2 separate regions of the Homo sapiens genome follow, and region 1 is linked to region 2. The links are contacts of gene promoters, found by promoter capture Hi-C in blood cells and fetal thymus (Javierre and others, 2016). All regions are on one chromosome and are shown on one strand. Each heading gives the region's core, a stretch centred on a gene start or on the middle of the fragment in contact. The rest is flanking DNA. Distances are from core to core; before and after follow the strand shown.

Region 1 (6,112 bases), core at 750-3,249, 1.3 Mb after region 2:
GGGTTCCTCTACTCCGAGAAAAGACACCTAATCCACCCATCAACTCAAACCAGGAACTTGCCTCTTTTTCCCTCCCTGTCTACAGCCAACCAATCTCCAAGGCCCTATTCCACCCCTTCTTTTCCATGCCTGTTGCCACTGTCCTACTTCAGGCCTCATCAGTTTCTAGACAAAAACAGCGTTCTCATCAGTCTTTCCCTCTCCAGGTTATGCTTCATACTGATTATTTCCTGAACTTTCTAGCCAGCAAATCCCATCCTATTTCTCACCCTAGAACCTGCCCACGAATTTTTACCAGCCACTGCAGTGTTTCACAGTTTGCCTTTGAGAAATATCTGTTCTGCTGGGTCTTAAGGGACACTATCCATAGAAAGCTAATGAGAAACAAAAGCAAACAGGTTTTTTAGTGGTTCTTATTCTTACCCAAGCCTTTAATATGTTCATGAGTGTTAAGACTTTTCAGTGGGAGCAGAACAAGAGTTTTTCTTACATAAGGTAACTGGAGAAGCTTCTTCACTGAACATCTAACAGAACTAGTTAGCATGAATTTTGGCAAACACTGGCCTAAATGATAAAATCAAAGGCACATAAGGGCTTCCATGTCTTATGCTTTTCAAGGGGGCTTCCCACACCCCAGCTTCATTCTCTACCACTCCTCCACCCCCCACGCACACACGCCCATACTCCAATACTGAGCTCCCTGCTACTTTCCAAATATAACACATTATACCCTCATGCCACAGAACTTGAGTGTTGCTCTCTCTGCTTCCCCCACCTAGTTAACTCCTTCTCACTAAGACCCAGCCCAATTCACCACCTCCACTAAGAAGCTGTCTCCCCATCCTGTTACCCCATGCACCCTGAGCTCCTCTTTATCAGAAAATCTATCAATGTTGTAACTATTTACGTGTGTGGATCCTCAATGGATAGTATACTTTCTTGAGAGAGATGACTCTGCCTAATGTCATCTCCAAAGCTAGAAATTGAATGAAGATTTTTTTAAAAACCATACTATGCAACAGGCCCTCTACTGGGCCTCTTGTTCTTGTATATCCCTCAAGACGAGCCTACAGTGTAGATCTTTGCTGTCCAAACAGCCACAGGTGGTTACTGAGCACTTGAAATATGGCTAGGCCAAATCGAAATGTGCTAAAACTGTAAAATACCAGATTTTGAAAACTTAATACTAAAAAATGTAAAATATCTCAATGTTTTATACTGACTACATGTTGAAATATTTCATACACACCGAGTTTACTAACATTGATTTCATCTGCTTTTTGCTTTATTAAAGTGGCTACTAAAAAATTTTAAATTATATGTGACTAGCATAATATTTCTACTGTACAGCGCTCTGGTGGATACTTTTATACGCATTTTAGAAACTAGGAAACTGAGTCTCAGGGAGGTAAACTGCCTTGTCCAGAGTAATCCCACGAGTCAGTGGTACAGCCCGTAAAGCACTGGAATCCAGGATTCTGATTCTAAAAGCTGAATTCATTCCACCTCACCTTTAGGTACCAATCCACAACTGCTCGAGAGGAAATGCAGGCTCTGCGGGATGGGGCTCCTCCTCTCCACACCCCCACACAGGCGGGTCGCGGCGCCTCACATTCACTCACCATTGCGCATGAAGTAATCCTCCACTGCACCCCCCAGCCACTTGGCCTTCTCCTGGCTGTGCACACCCCCGAAGCCATTCTCCACAGCGATCTGTAAACACAGGTCCAAGCCCACCAAGTCAGCTTGGGAGCAGACCTGGAGTAGCCTGGAGGCCGCTTACGCCGCCCAGCCAACTCCTCTTATGCCGCCTAGCCAAGCCTCAGGCACCTAGCCCAACCAACTCCTGTTCTGCCCCGGGCCCTAACCTTGACCTTGCCCTGGCCCTGGCCCCACTGACCTGCAAGGCCGGCCAGGCCTCCAGGGCCGCGCAGACCCCAGCCCGGAAAAGAGCTCGCGCATCTTCTGCAGCGCCCGCCATTATCCGGCCCCAGTCCACGTGACGTCCCGGCGGCCCAATCCCTCTGTAGCTCGGCCCAGGCAGAACGAGACGCAAGCCGAGCCTGAGAACACAGGATTCTCTTTTCCGCAGACCTGGCAGCAAGACTAGAGCAAAAGAAAAATCTGTCAGAGCGATCGATGACACCACCAGAGTTACTCACTTAAATCAAAGGACACCAGACCTGAAGGACGTGTGGGGCCATGGTTTCCGGATCCGTGGGTACTGCGGAGGAAATATGTGGGGAACTTATTACAGATACAGATTCCAGGCCCTGGGGCAGAGGACTCAGTGAGTATAGCCTTAAAAATCTGCATTTAAAAAAAGCATCCTAACATCTGTATAGAATACTGCAACCAACAACAGTAAAATACAATCAGCTCTCCCTATGGGGGGCAGTCCACGTCCGTGAATTCAACTAACCTCAGATGGAAAATATTCAGGAAAAAATTGCATCTGCATTGAACATGTGTATACTTTTTTTCTTGACATTATTCTCCTAAACAGTACAGTATAACAGCTATATACATAGCATTTACACTTTATTAGGCATTATAAGTAACCTGGAAATTATTTATTTATCTATTTTTTTGAGACCGAGTGTCACTCTGTGGCCCAGGCTGGAGTGCAGTGGCGCCATCTCGGCTGACTGCAACCTCCGTCTCCTGGTTTCAAGCAATTCTCGTGCCTCAGCCTCCCGAGTACCTGAGATTACAGGTGCCCACCACCACTCCCAGCTAATTTTTGTGTTTTTAGTAGAGACAGGGTTTCGCCATGTTGCCCAGGCTGGTCTCGAACTCCTGGGTTTAATCCACTTGCCTCAGCCTCCCAAATTGCTGGGATTATAGGCGTGAGTCACATCTGGAAATGATTTAAAGTATACAGTAGAATATTCATAGGTTATACGCAAATACTATGCCATTTTATATCAGGGACTTGAGCATCTATGAATTTTGGTATCCTCCGGAGGTCGTGGAACCAGTCTCCCACGGATACCCAGGGATAACTGTACATGTTTTTCTGAAGTACACAAGAACATTCTCCAGAACAGATCATACACTAGGCCATACAGTAGGCCTCCATAGATTTAACAGGATTGAACATACAAAGTATGTTGTCTGACCACAATGGAAAGAAGTTAAAAATCAGTAAAAAGAAACTTACAAAATTCACAAATATATGGAAATTAACACACTCCTAAGCAATAAATGGGTCAAAGAAAAAAATCACAAAGCAAATTAGAAAACACTTTTAAATGAATGAAAACAAAAACATAAAAAAATGCATGAGATGCAGCTAAAGCAAAACTTAGAGGGAAATCTTTAGCTGTAAACATGCATATCTAAAAAGAAGAGCCGGACATGGTGGCTCATGCCTGTAATCATAGCACTTTGGGAGGTTGATGCGGGAGGATGGCTTGAGCTCAGGAGTTCAAGACCAGCCTGGGCAACATAGTGAGACCCCATCTCTAAAAACAATTTTAAAAATTAGGCCAGGTGTGGTGGCTCACGCTTGTAATCACAGCACTTTGGGAGGCCAAGGCAGGCAGATCACTTGAGGTCAGGAGTTCGAGACCAGCCTGGCCAAGATGGTGAAACCCCGTCTCTACTAAAAATACAAAAATTAGCCAGGTCTGGTGGCAAGCACCTGTAATCCCAGCTACTTGGGAGGCTGAGGCAGGAGAATGGCTTGAACCCGGGAGGCGGAGGTTACAGTGAGCCGAGATGGTGCCATTGCACTCCAGCCTGGGAAACAGAGTGAGACTCTGTCTCAAACTAAATAAATAAATAAATTTGAAAACTAGGCCAGGCATGGTGGCTCACACCTATAATTCCCGCACTTTGGGTGGGCAGATCACCTGAGGTCAGGAGTTTGAGACCAGCATGGTCAATATGAACAAACCCTGTCTCTACTAAAAATGCAAAAGTTAGCCAGGCATGGTGACACACACCTGTAATCCCAGCTACTTGGGAGGCTGAAGCACGAGAATCGCTTGAACCCGGTAGGCAGAGGTTGCAGTGAGCTGAGATCACTCCACTGCACTCCAGCCTGGGCGACACAGTGAGACTCTGTCTCAAACAAACAAACGAACAAACAAAATTAGATGGGCATAGTGGCATATGCGTGTAGTACCAGCCACTCAGGAGGCTGAGGTGGGAGGATTGCTTGAGCCTGGGAGCTCAAGGCTGCAGTGAGCCGTGATTGTGCCACTGCACTCCAGCATGGGGGACAGAGCAAGACCCTGTCTCAAAAAAATAAAAAATGAAAGAATGATATCAAATTAATAACCTACACTTCCACTTCACAAAACCAGAAAAAGAAGAGCAAAGTAATCCCAAGGCAAGCATAAGAAAGGAAATAATAAATAATAGAACAGAAATAAATGAAATAGAGAATTGAAAAACAATAGAGAAAAGAAAAAACAGTGAAGCCAAAAGTCAGTTGTTGTTTTTTGTTTGTTTGTTTGTTTGTTTTGAGATGGAGTCTGGTGCTGTCACCCAGGCTGAAGTGCAGTGGTGCAATCTCAGCTCACTACAACCTCTGCCTCCCAGGTTCAAAGGAGTCTCCTGCCTCAGCCTCCAGAGTAGCTGGGATTACAGGCATATGCCACCATGCCCCGTTAATTTTTGTATTTTTAGTAGAGACAGGGTTTCACCATGTTGGCCAGGCTGGTCTTGAACTCCTGACCTCAAGTGAGCTGCCCACCTCAGCCTTCCCAAGTGTTTGGATTACAGGCGTGAGCCACCGGACCTGGGCGGTTATTTTTTTTTCAGAGATGAAGTCTTTTTTTGTTGCCCAGGCTGGAATGCAGTGGCACAAACATTGCTCACTGCAGCCTCAAACTCCTGGGCTCAAAGGATCCTCCTGCCTCTGCCTCCTGATTAGCTGGGACTACAGGAATAGGCCACCATGCCTGGCTAGTGTGTGTGTGTGTGTGTGTGTGTGGTTGTGTGTGTGTGTGTGTGTGTGTGTGTGTGTGTGTGTGTGTGTGTTGGGAGGGGGTGTCTCACTTTGTTGCCCAGGCTGGTCTTGAACTCCTGGTTTCAAGCGATCCACCTGCCTCGCCTCTCAAAATGCTGGGATTACAGGTGTGAGCAAATGCAACTGGCCAAGTCAGTTATTTGAAAAGATCAACAAAATTTACAAACCCTTAGCTAGACTGAGGAAGAAATAAAAGAAAGAAGACTCAAATTACTGAAATCAGGAACGAAAGAGGACGTATAATTACCGACCAGTCAAAAAAGACCACATATTGTATGATACCATTTATATGAAATATACAGAATAGGTAAATCTATAGAGACAGAAAATACATGAATGGTTGCCCAGGGCTTGGATGGGGAAAGAATAGAGTGTGACTTCTAAATGGCTTCAGGGCTACTTTTGGGGGTGTCGAAAATGTTCTAAAAATTAGACGAGGTAATGGTTGCTGTTATGAGCTAAATTGTATCCACCACCCCCCAAATTCATATGTAGAAACCCTAACCCCCAGTACCTCAGAATGTGACTGTATTGGGAGATAGAGCCTTTAAAAAGGTAATTAAGATAAAATGAGGTTGCATGGGTGGGCCCTAATCCGTTATGACTGATGTCCTTATAAAGAAGGGGAGATTAGAACTCGGTGCAATGGCTCAGATCACTTGAGGCCAGGAGTTCGAGACCATCCTGGGCAACAAAGCAAGACCCCCCATCTCTACAAAAAAATTTTTTTTTTAATTAGCTGAGTGTGATGGCTGTAGTCCCAGCTACTCAGGAGACTGAGGAGGGAGGATCACTTGAGTCCAGGAGGTTGAGGCTGCCGTGAGCCATGATTGTACCACTGCACTCCAGCATGAGTGACAGAACAAGCCCTGTCTCAAAAACAAAAAACAACAAAATATAATAATAAGAGGAGATGAGGACACAGGCAAAGAGGGACACCAGAGAGGTGTACACACAGGGACAACTATGTGAACACACAGTGAGAAAGCTAAGGAGAAAGCCAAGGAGCAAATCAGAAGAAACTATACTAAAAGCCATTGAATTGTACACTTTACTTATTTGTTGATTTATTGATGAAAGTATTTCCTTAAAATTAGAAATCTAATTTACAAATTACAAATTTTTAAAAAC
Region 2 (6,294 bases), core at 2,769-5,268:
ATCTTTCCACCTCTGCCTTTGATCTCATCCCTTCTACTTACCTCTATGCTCTTATTCCATTTATTACTGTCCCTCCTTTTTCTTTTCAAAAGCTTCCCATGGCCTGCAGGATGAAGTCCTTAGACTACATATAAGACCCTCCTTGATCTAGTCTATTTACTTCTCATCCCTCATCTCCTGTCCCTCCTGGCCTGAAACTTTTAGCTTACAGCCACACTTAATTGAACTGCTGGTAGTCCCTCTGATTGTTCCCAGCCGTCTGGGAGGTCCTGCATCTGTGCCATTGTTTCACGCAGTACTCTCTGCCAGTAAACTATCCATTCTCTTTTCTTCCTTCAGCTAAATTGCAGTTATCCTTCAAGACTTGGTTCAGTAATCATTTTTGCAAGAAGATATTCTGAGTCTAATGCTCTAGGCTGACTTAAGTGTCTTACCTCTGTCCTCCCATGGCACTGTTATTTCATTGCAAAGACTATAATGCATTGCAGTTACTTATTTTGGGGGGTCTGTCCTTCTCTCTCAGAAGACTCTGTGCTCTGGAAGGGGAGAGAAAGTCCCCTCATACCTCCAGTGCCTAACATACAACAGATGCTCAAAGTATGTACATCAAAAGAACAAGCAAGTTATCAAAACAAATATAGAAAGCAAGAGAGTATCTGACAGTGAGAACTGTCCAAGGGAAAAGGTAGCCTCATGAAGGTAAGCAGCCTTCCTGTCAATGTCAGCATGTCACACAGAGAGCACTCGTCAATGATGTTCTATACTCTCGTACTAAAAGGGAATTTAGTAAAGTGACTTTTGAGAGTCCTTTCAAATCTAGAATTTATGAAATATAGTTCCAATTACCTTGCTTTCCTTTTCGTTCTTTCTTTTTTATTTTATTTTTTTTGAGACCAAGTCTCACTCTATCATCCAGGCTGGAGGGCTGTGGCATGATCTCAGCTCACTGCAACCTCCGCCTCCCGGGTTCAAGTGATTCTCATGCCTCAGCCACCCCACCTGAGCCCCCCACCTCAGCCATCCCATGCCTGGGATTACAGGCATGCACCATCATGTCCGGCTATTTTTTTTTTTTTTTTGGTATATTTAGTACAGACAGGGTTTTGCCATGTTGGCCAGGCTGATCTTGAACTCCTGGCCTCAAGTGATGCACCTGCCTCAGCCTCCCACAGTGCTGGGATTACAGGCATGAGCCACCGTGCCCAGCCTTAACTTGCTTTTCAAATGAAGGGAACCTATGTTCTACCTTCAATCCCAAGATATTTTATACAAATTTCTAATTACTAATATAAGAAGTATTGATGAAAATATACTACACTCAGACTTGATTTAATCTAAAAATGTAGCTATATAACTTTATCTCACTAAGGAAATGCCACTGCTGAGCCAGTCTAAAGTTGCTACAAAAAGTTTGCTTTTGTACTTTAAAATTTTAATTGAAAAACAATAACTCTTTATATTTAGGAGGTACAATGCAATGTTTGATATATGTATACAATGCAGAATGATTAAATCAAGCTAATTTTTGTTCTTAATCATGTAGAAATTTCTGTACTTTTAGGCATTCTCAATGAAAGCAACTTCAGACAGGCTCATCAAGAACATTCTCTTAGCAAACTGTAGTTACAGAACTGAATTATTAGATGAAGCTAAGGCTAAATATGGTACATTTCCTTCGGTTATTAATTTATACAGTGTACCTCTTTCAATTGCCTATGAAAGACTTACCAAGGCTAATCATGTTAGGTACTGATCTAAGTGTTCTACAGGCATTTACTAATTTAAACGTCACAACAATCTTACGATACAGTTAATATTATTACTACCATTTTACAAATGAGGAAACTGAAGCCCCAAAAGGTTAAGAAATTAGCTTGAGCTGCACTCTTAGCAATTCTGCCTAAACCCCAACGTAGGGCACAGTACTATGAGAGCACAAAGGAAGGTGTGTCCAATTCTATCTGAAGAACTCAATAAGACCTTATAGTGGTAACACTTGAGTTAGGTTAAAAATAAATGTGCAGACAGAGGCCTGTATGGTGTGTGTATATGGCTTACACAAAGTGCAAATTAATTTGTAAATCTGGAGAACAATAAATTCTGTAGGGCTGTGATAGGGTGCATAAGTGTGGCACAGGGTTTGGTCAGGAACAGATTTTAAAGGGCCATGAAATCATTTGGATTTTATTCCATGGGCTTAAAGAAGTTACTAAAGGTTCTTAAGTATGTAGATGACTCAGTCGGATTTTCATATTAGAAAAATTAAATCTGATAGCATACAAGGAGAAGAGAGTCAGACAGACCACACAGAAGGCTCCTGCAATAGTCCAGAAAAGATGGTGTATATATGTCACAAAGTTCCTGAATATCAACTTCTTACCTTTACCTTCATGGTTTTGACGTATCTAACACGTCTTACCTTTTTCTTCATGGCTGTATTTGGTAGCACCCACCTGCAGATATAAACCAAAAAACAGTTTCCATGATCCAATTCCCTTAGAAATTGAAATTAATGAAGTATAAATAAACATGGAGGTACAAAAGAGCATGTTTAGTACAACGGCTGAGTACAGCTGTGTGTGTGGGACCTCAGATGAATAGAGGTCCCATTTTCCTAAATTATAAAACTGTGTGTATACTCTCTATCTCCTAATTAGAAGTTCAAGAGAGAACTCCTAGGAAGATTTATTTAGGAATACAAATGAGCCATTAAAATTCAAGATTCAATTTTTCATCATCTTAATCAAAGCAACACAGCTGCTTTAATCAAACAATATCTTCTATTTCTAAAAAAACAGAATATATTGATATCCTCTACTTGAGGACTGAGTATTGAATATCTTCTATGTATAAAAAACATTCAGCCTCCTAATTTTAAAATCTGGAAGTATCTTTTTAGTCCTTCAGCTGTCCTTCCAAGCCCTATTTCACTCATCACAGACACAAAGTAGATGTAAGTCTCAAATTCAGGTACAAATTGGCACAGAAAACACCCTCAAGCTCTGACCTGGAAATGCAAATCTTCTTTCTAGTCTTTCCATCCCCAACCTGGTGACAGCAAATCTCCTTTACTGATAATTCAAAGCAACTCATAACTGCTTTAATTAGAACACTCCCCCAGCACCACCACCAGGAATATCAGCCCCTTCCCAAGGGTTGTTTCTGATCAGTTAGCACCAATTCGCTTTCCAGTTTATCCTGTCGTCCAAAGCATAATCCCAATCAACATTACTGGTAAATCAAAGCAATTTATCATGGTGCGGGGTGGGGAGAAGTGTTCTAATTCACAATACTCTCTTCAATTTGAACACCCCCACTTCCAGGTTTCACAAATACCCTTCACCCACCCAAGCGATCCTTCCGGTTCCCCTAGTGGTGGATCCATTCTCGGCCCCAGATTTTCTTTCTCCGTCGTTTTCTCAGAGTCAGATTCTTCCATTGCGCAACAAGTCCTTTCCAGTCCCTTCTAAATCTTCAGTACTCTTCAGGGTTTGTTGTTGTTGTTTGTTTGTTTTCTTTTTCACCCCTCAACTGCCTATTCTCATCGCCTATGGCCCTCAGGCCTGCTCTATTCTTGCCTCCGCCTTTGTCCACTGGGGGGCCGCTTTCCCCACGGTTACCTTTATCTCTCGAACCTGGCCTCAAGGCACGGCCGAGCTGGCTAGCTTTAAGGCCAAGTGATTCCGTGGTACAAAGTAAGAGTTGGAGAATGACAGGAAAAGAGAGGTGGGTTAGGGGTTCGTCCCGAGTTTGGGCCTCAGGCCCCCAAGGTCTGGAAACCCAAAGGTAACTTCACCCGCAAAGAGGTGAGGACCGCGAAGGCGGAGGTGGCAGAAAGAGCTGACCCATGCCGTAGGCACTAAGCGGAGAACGCCTCAGCTGGCTCGTGGCTTCCGAGCCCGGCCGCTCGGAGAGTCAGCCGGCGGGGGCAGTAGTTACGACCTAACCACCCGCCCTTCAGGAACCCAGGTATCTCACCGCAGCCACCCAACTGCAGGCCAGGATCACGTGGGCATCTGCCTTACCCCGGAGTCTGTCACGTGACTGCCGCTACCAAAGGGACGGGTGGGCTGGGAAGAATACCATAGAGACAGCTCCAGGAAAGCCAGAGTGCCGTCTGTCATCATCACGTGGCCTTGGCTCAGGCTCCGCCCCTCGGGCGGGGTAGGGCGCTGGGAGCCTTCAGCCTCTCTAATGTGGGTGGGCCTGGCCCCACCCATCCGCTATGGAGAATTAAAGGAGCCGGTTGCAATTTCAGTGCCTCTGAGCTTCTCTTTTTTACTGCTGGTTACCGGTAATGGTTTTTGACTGGGAAGACCGAGCATTGTCTTTGCCTTCCTGCTTTTTATTGTTAATTCTTGCAATCGAGTTTGTAATTAAATGATTAATACATCCAAAGCGCTTAGAACTGTGTCTTCCACATAGCAAATACTGTATAAATTATCGTTATTGCTGAAACCAGGGATTCATCAGGAATTTTAACACACACATTCATCTTCCCACTTGTTTAAAACAGGAAGTGAAGGAAGTACCATAGTAAGAAGTCAATAAATAAAGTCTAGGGCTGGGAGTGGTGGGTCATGCCTTTAATCCCAGCACTTTGGGAGGCTGGGGAGGGAGGATCACTTGAGGCCAGGAGTTCAAGACCAACCTGGCCAACATAGCGAGACCCCATCTGTAAATAAGTGAAGTCTAGAATTGAGAACAGAAAGACTACTGGTAGGGATATGCACACCAGGAAAAATGCCCAGAGGGGTTCAAAGATGTTCCTTCTGGAGAATGGGGTAGGGGATAGGACGTGATATGTCAGGGGACTATTATTTTTTATCTGAAGCCCTTCTGTGCTATATATATTTCTATAATGTATAAATGATATATAATAATAAGATTAATATGACATTTAATTATATTTAATATAATCAACTAATACTTAAATAATATGTTATAAATATGTTATTTTAAATAAATGTGTAGTTTAATTATATTATTTATAATTAATATATGATATACTACATGTATTATTTACACGTAAGTGTGTACATATATTACTTTGATAAGAAAAAAAGGGAAGGAAGGAAGAGAAACTGCAGGAAACAGAGTACTATTATTGAAACTGCCTTTGCAAAAACTGTAACTGAGGAAATTATGACAGTGAAAGAGATCAGACCTCACCGACTCCATCTTACATCTAACCTTTAAGGTGTCCTTGTTCATTCCTGGGCGTAGGCCGAACTAACCTTGGGAAGGAATTTAGTTTATAGTTTAACTCTGATACAAAATTGATAATAGCCCTTTCTCCCTCCCGCTGCCCCCCACTAAAAAAAAACAAAAAAACAAAAAAACCTTCTTACCTGGGAACCAGTCGGCCTTTGCAGGACTAACAAATTAGCCACAAGATTACAAGATTAGAAATTACAATTCAGGGGCCATGCAGCCTCCAGCTGCAAGAGTCTGAACCTCCCCAAATTGCTCCCAGGAATAACATCACTGTTTTAAAACCTAAGATCACTGTTTGATATGTTTTGCAGACCCTGCATTCAGATGCACCAGCTTATGATACAGGAGCGGGGCAGGAAAGTGCTGGGCAGAGAAAGGCGGGTCCGTGGCTAGGGCTCCACCCTGGGGCCTGTGCCCATGGACCTAGGTGAGGATAGGCACTCCTGCCTTCCCACCCAAATGTTATATTCACCCCTAGAGGTTGCCATGGGGTCGGAGCCCCACAGCCTGCCCCTCTGCATGCTCCCCCTAGAGGTTGTGAAGCAGTGAGCCACTCCCGCTGTGGCATGCCCTGCAAGGGGGATAGGGGAACTTCCCTCGTTTCACTTACAGCACCCAGACCAGTAATCTGGCCCAGCCAGTTCTGCGATCCCACCCAGGAACAGAAGATAGCAAGAAAAACTCACTTAGAGCCCCCTATGATTCCATATCCAACTTGACCAGTCAACACTCCCCACTTCCCAAGCCCCTACCCACCAAATTATTGTTAAAAATTTCAATCCCCCGAAACTGATTTGAGTAATAAAACTGCAGTCTCACCCACAGCTGGCTCTGCATGAATTACTCTTTCTCCATTGCAATTCCCCTGTCTTGATAAATCAGCTCTGTCTAGGCAGCAGGCAAGGTGAACCCGTTGGGCAGTTACACTGTCTGCTCCCACACTTTCCACTTGAGGTCCTGTGTGATTCCTTTTCTCCACAACTGCCTTGCCTCAAGAAAAAAGTTATTCTACTCTGATTAGTGATCCTTCGCTCTATCACTAGCTAATCTTTTGTCTCCTTCCAACCAACTACCCCC

What was found. The method cuts DNA at HindIII sites, captures the fragments that hold promoters and counts their contacts. A CHiCAGO score of 5 or more calls a contact.
Region 1: a contact is called between the fragment with the promoter of TSR2 here and the fragment with the promoter of RRAGB in region 2, in 1 of 17 cell types (fetal thymus). The highest score is 6.5, in fetal thymus.

The regions. Positions count from the first base shown.
Region 1 is chrX:54,436,291-54,442,402 of GRCh38, reverse strand. It overlaps TSR2 (TSR2 ribosome maturation factor), which reads right to left and starts at 1,999. Exons shown (of 5, transcript NM_058163.3): 1 at 1,901-1,999; 2 at 1,623-1,713. The coding sequence starts at 1,981. RefSeq lists an enhancer at 2,232-2,281. The HindIII fragment of the contact is 25,574 bases long and covers 511-6,112 here.
Region 2 is chrX:55,715,473-55,721,766 of GRCh38, reverse strand. It overlaps RRAGB (Ras related GTP binding B), which reads right to left and starts at 4,018. Exons shown (of 10, transcript NM_006064.5): 1 at 3,348-4,018; 2 at 2,420-2,453. The coding sequence starts at 3,439. RefSeq lists enhancers at 3,400-3,529, 3,690-3,889. The HindIII fragment of the contact is 6,209 bases long and covers 95-6,294 here.